2 separate regions of the Homo sapiens genome follow, and region 1 is linked to region 2. Evidence: promoter capture Hi-C in human tissues and cell types (Jung and others, 2019). All regions are on one chromosome and are shown on one strand. The core of a region is centred on a gene start or on the middle of the fragment in contact, and the rest is flanking DNA. Distances in the headings are between cores, read along the strand shown.

Region 1 (2,700 bases), core at 152-2,651, 440 kb after region 2:
GGGAACTTGGAAATCCAAACACCTGAAGCCAAGCTGTGAGCTTCTTGAGTGCCAGGCAGGGAAATAGTCCCTGGTAAGACGCCATAGTCCACACATACTCCTAAAGTCTCGAGAGAGGAAGGAGGAGTCACCAGGAAGATCCATTTGCATCTGAACTGTGGTCTCTGGGAATAAGCAAGCATTGTTTCCCAGTGTGCTAATGATGGTCATCCGAGGGTATAAAGTGATGAGCAGCCCTGAGGTCCAGCTAATCCCTGATAGGTGTGTCCCAGAGAGACCCACTCAGCAGTGCACATTCAAGTTGTGGTGGTCAGATAAAGCTGCTGCATTGCTCATTTCCTGAGCCCTCTACATTCCTCCTCACCTGTTTTAGATAGCTGTCTCTGAGGTCTGAAATAGTTAAGAGCAAGTATTTGGGATTCCCTTCTTCTCTACCCAGGTACCATGCCCAGAGTCCCCATCCTCTCCCTTTGCTGTCCCCTGCCAGGTGACCAGTGTGTTTCTGCTGGCTCCCAGTGGCCTGAGATCTCTCACTGCAATATTCTACCAGTACAGTGCTCTCCTCAAAAGAACCTCTGAATCCCACTGTTTTGGAGACCTAGAGAGGCCAGCCTTTCCTATTTGGTAATATCTAAGCTAAATACAATAAAGCCATGCCAATTAAGGGAGAAGAATGGTGTAGATGGGGGGCTGGCAAACTTTTTCTGTAAAGTTCTGGCAAGTAAATATTTTGGCTTTTTGGGGCTACACTGTCTTTGTTGTAACTAATCAACTCTGCTGCCCTGGTGTGAAAGCAGCCACAGATAGTCTATAAATGAGTGAGCATGGCTGTGTTCAAATAAAACATTATTTATAAAAACAGAGGGCAAGCTAGGATTGCCCTGTGGGGCTGTAGTTTGCTAACTCTAAGCGTAAAAGAAAGAACATGAGGCAGGAACAAAGAACCTGGCCCCTAGACACAGCCCTGACCTTAACCAGCTGCAAGACTTGGCACAAGTCACCTTACTCCTTCCTTTTCCACCTCCCACGTTCCCAAAGGGAGCAAGGTATAAAGAGGATAATATATGAAACCCACCATGCATCTTACGTTTCCAGTTGTCTTGCTCATCTGTGGCCCATAGTGCAAAGGTCATGGGATTAGTTTGGACAATAACACTATCATTTTAAGCAGCTGCTTTGAGATAACATATGTAATCTCTCTGCTTTCATCTTCACAACTCATTGAGGTAGATAATGTGGTCCCTCTTTAAGAGGTGAGGAAACAGGCTGGGCGTGGTGGCTCACACCTGCAATCCCAGCACTTTGGGAGGCCAAGGTGGGTGGACCACTTGAGGCCAGGAGTTTGAGACAAGTCTGGCCAACATAGTGAAACCCTGTCTCTACTAAAAATACAACAACAAAAAAATTAGCCTGGAGTGTTGGTGCATGCCTGTAGTCCCAACTACTCGAGAGGTTGAGGCATGAGAATTGCTTGAACTCTGGAGGTGGAGGTTGTAGTGAGCCAAGATTGCACCACTGCACTCCAGCCTGGGTGACAGAGTGAGACTCTATCTCAAGGAAAAAAAAAAAAAAAAAGAGTGAGAGAGAGATGAGGAAATGGAGAAGAGGGAAGTTAAATAACTTGCCCAAATTACACAATAGGTCAGCCTCAAGATCAGGATTCAAATCCAGGCCTATCCAACCACATCCAAGTTTCCCAGACACCATGTGACTTCCCACGTAGGCTGCTTAGTTTCCAAGCCCTTCACTCTAACCAACCACTTTGCAGATATCATCTATAGAACACTATCCTCTGCGCATTTGCTGGAGTGATCAGATATAATTATTTCTATGTAAAAATTTATCCAATGGCTTCCCATTGGTCCCTATCATGACCTACAAGGCCCCTGTGATCTGTGTCATCTCACTCCAACCTTCTGACCTCTCCTCTCTGCTTCACTCTGTTTCTGCCCCAGGCACCTTGCTTTGCCTTAAGACATGCCAAGCTGACTCCCCAAATCAAGAGCCTCATACTTACGGGGGTCCTCAGACTCAAGCCAGTGCTATTCTCCCACTGTAAGCACAGCTTATTCCTTCACTTAATTGGTGCCTCAGCTTAACTGTCACCTCCTCAAAGAGAACCTTCCTGACCACGCTATCCAGAAAAAAGGAAAGTTATTGGCTTTCAATAATTACCTGTTGATTGTCGAATAAATGAAAGACTATATTGGAATGAAGAGACAGAGCGTGGCTGGCTTAGGACCAGCTGCTTGGCACATTCCAAGGGCAGAGATTCAGACCTCTCAGCAGTGAGAAGCCTTGTCTCATGGAAGAAAGGTAGCTTGCTTGCCTATATCAGAACAAATGACAGTACTGCTTTGTGTCATCTTCAAAAGTACCTAATACAGGAGAGGTGACACAAAACTGGGAGAGATAAGTCTCATGACTCTGAATAAATGTCAGAGTTACAAGGGACCTGAGGAGTCCTCTAAGGTCCAGCATTTTCCAGCTTCCAGTCTCTGAGCCACTTTTTGCTCTACTTCCTCCTCTGTCTGCCATGTTCCTTTTTGCAGCAGCTGTTCTTGACCAGACGGGCCTCCCTCTCCCAAACCCTCCTATCCCCCAGGGTTGAGGGGGGCATGAAGGCTTTAGATAACTACTTTTGTTGGGAAAACACTGTTCTCGTTTAAACTCTGTCACTTCATGGATGAAGAAACTGAG
Region 2 (2,700 bases), core at 114-2,613:
CCAGAAAAAAAAAAAAAAAAAAAAAAAAAAGTTCATTGAAAACCCTCGCTAGAGGGTGGTGGAACTGGTTGGAGGCGGTGCAGGGGGCGTCGGTGGGGATCGATCAAGTGTCCGGGTGCGGGCAGGGGGCCCCCGAGTTCTAGCACGAGCACTTGCACTCGGAAATGATGGGGTACTGGATGGGAATCCAGCCGCAGCGCTGGCCCCCGCGCCGCTGACAGCGCCACCGCAGCACCGTGAGGTGCACGGACTTGGACGGCTTGCACACCATGCCCTCGGGCACGGAGCACGAGCGCTTACTGAAGCAGCTGCCCACCTTCACGTAGCGCGGCCAAAAGCGGCTGCCCAGGTCGTTCCACGCGTACAGCACGGGGCAGAATGTCTGCGACCACAGCCACATCTGTAACTTCCTCCGCAGCTTCTTGCTTAGGCGCTGCTTCTTGCCCTGGGCCAAGCCCTCGGAGAACTCTAGCCCTTTGATCTCGCTCGGCATGGCCCCCGACGGCCGCTGCCGCAGCAGCTGGTCCAGCTCCGCCAGGTCCTCCGCGCCCCCAGCTGCACCCCCGCCCCCGCCGGGCCGGTCCTCGGGGGGCGAGGTGGCCATGAAGCCTGGGTCGTAGTGGCCCCCGAGCAGCGAGCGCAGCAGCGTCTCGTTCAGATCCTTTTCCTTGGGGTCAAAGATAGGGTCTGGGTGTTCGATGAGGTCCACCAGGGGCAGGTTGTCGCTGGGTGCCGGGCGGATGTGGAGATAGTGCTGGCCGCCGGCCGGTGTCGCCCGCAGCCCCAGGACCACCACCAGGGCGTAGAGGGTGACCCCTAGGCTGGGGCAGCGCTCCATGCCTCTGGCGCGCGCCCGGGGCTGCTGCTTCGTCCCGCGTCCCCGGAGGAGAGCACGCCGAGCCCGCGGCGCCGCCGCGCTCCCCCGTCTCTCCGGAGGCGGCTCACCCGAGGCTGGGCAGGCGCAGGGCCGGCAGCATGAGCCGCCGGGAGAGCCCTTCGCGCAGCGCCGGCTCCCACCGGGGCGGAAGAAAGGCACACAAGTTGGCCGCAACTCCTCTCCCGGGTCTACTGGGGAAGGCGGCCGCGGCTGGGCATCCGAAATTACTCCAGGGCGACCGCGGGGCGCGGGAGGCGCCGGCTCCTCGCTGCCTTCCCGGGCCGGCGGCGGCGCAGGGCGCGTGGACGAGCCGCTCTCCCCTCCTCCTCTCGCTGCTCTTCGTCCGGCCGCTCTGTGCAAGCGCCGCTGGCTGAGCTGGTTCTAGGGGCACTTCCCTCCGCCTGCTCCGGGCTCCGCGGCCGGCTCTGCCCGGCGGACTCCAGCGGCGGCGGCGGCGGCGGCGTCCGCGCACGTTGGCACCGGTTTGTCTGTCTCGCAGGGTCCAAGCCTTTAAATTTCCTGCACTTTCAGCTCCATCACCATGGAAACCACTGACTCTCTCGGCGTTGCCCCCTCCCCCTTCTTCCCCCCAAACAACAACCCCACCCCCCACTTCTCCACCCCCGAGGAGCTGGAGCTGCACAGGCTCCGGGGGAAGCCGCCTGTACTCGCCGCGGAGGCGGCGGCGGCGGCTTCGGCAGCGCCCAGGGCTGTGCCCCGCCGGACCCAGATGCCCCGGGAAGCCGACAGTCCGGCTGCCCGCCGGAGCTCACAGGCGGCGGCGGCGGCGGCGGCAGCGGCGGTGGCGGCGGCGGTGGCGCTTGGCAGGTCTCCGCGCAATTTTCTCTCTCCCCCACCACCCACCCCCCTTCTCCTCCTCCTGCAAAATGCACCGCCCCCCTCCTTTCTCCTGGAGCAATGCAACTGGGGCTCTAGGCGCCCCGCCAGGGCCAGTCCTGGGGAAAGCTCGCGGCGGCGCTGGAGCCGGGCTGGAGGGTGCAGAGCCGGTGTTTGGGGAGGGGGGGCGGTGCTTGAGGTGGGGCTGGAGGGTTTCTCACTAGCTGGGTGCTTTGCACTGGGAGGGGAGCAGCGGGGAAGTGCTGGGGGCTCGTTTCTCGGTGCATGCAGTTCGGAGCAAGAAATTTCTCCATGTGCATGGAGCGTTTTCCCCGAGCGCGTCTTCTTCTCTCCCGGGCTCTTGCTCTAAGTCCCCTCCCCCCAACACACATATATACACACACACACACACACACACACACAGCCCCTACCCCACCCCCCTTTGCACCAGGGAGTCCGAGAGCCGCAGCGTTGCGCAGCGTGATGTAATTCTTAGGAAGCACTCCTGTCTGTCTGCCCCTCGGGCCCACGAGGGGGTTCCGCTCCTCACCATCCTCCTCCTCCTTGGCCGGGTCCTGCACCCTGAGTGGCCTAGCCTCAGGGGCGCGACTGGCTCGCCTGCGGCTCCCCTAGCCCGCCCGGCTCCGCGCGGCCGCCGCTCGGCTCCCTGGGGGCGGCGCGCCCTCTGCTGGCCCGCTATGAGCCCTGCACCTGGCGCTGGCGGGGGCGGCCGTGCGAGGTGGGTCGGCCGCTGCCCGCTCTGCCCAGTTCAGCTTCTGCTTCTGTGTCCCTGTCACTTTGTGTGTGTCTGCGTCTGCTGACTGGTCCGTTTTGGTTCTGGCTATTTTCCCGAAGGTCTCCAGGCCCCCAGTGTAAACAAACTTCCTGAGATTCCTTCTCGGTCCCCTCAAATTTCACAAGAATGCGTGCAGCACCTTCTGCCTCAGGTAAATCGGTCTCTGGTCTCAGTGGGTGCGAGTGGGGAC

What was found. The method cuts DNA at HindIII sites, captures the fragments that hold promoters and counts their contacts. A contact is called where the count stands out against the background at its distance.
Region 1: a fragment that was not itself captured here is called in contact with the fragment with the promoter of NOG in region 2 in 1 of the 25 tissues and cell types used here (spleen).

What each region holds. Positions count from the first base shown.
Region 1 is chr17:56,154,952-56,157,651 of GRCh38, reverse strand. All of the region lies in intron 1 of ANKFN1 (ankyrin repeat and fibronectin type III domain containing 1), which reads right to left. Among named protein-coding and RNA genes, the nearest start is that of ANKFN1, 2.8 kb to the right of the region's middle. RefSeq lists a silencer at 418-624. The HindIII fragment of the contact is 5,131 bases long and covers 1-2,700 here.
Region 2 is chr17:56,592,362-56,595,061 of GRCh38, reverse strand. NOG (noggin) reads right to left here and starts at 1,363. Exons shown (of 1, transcript NM_005450.6): 1 at 1-1,363. The coding sequence starts at 838. The coding sequence ends at 140. RefSeq lists a silencer at 2,301-2,510. The HindIII fragment of the contact is 21,510 bases long and covers 1-2,700 here.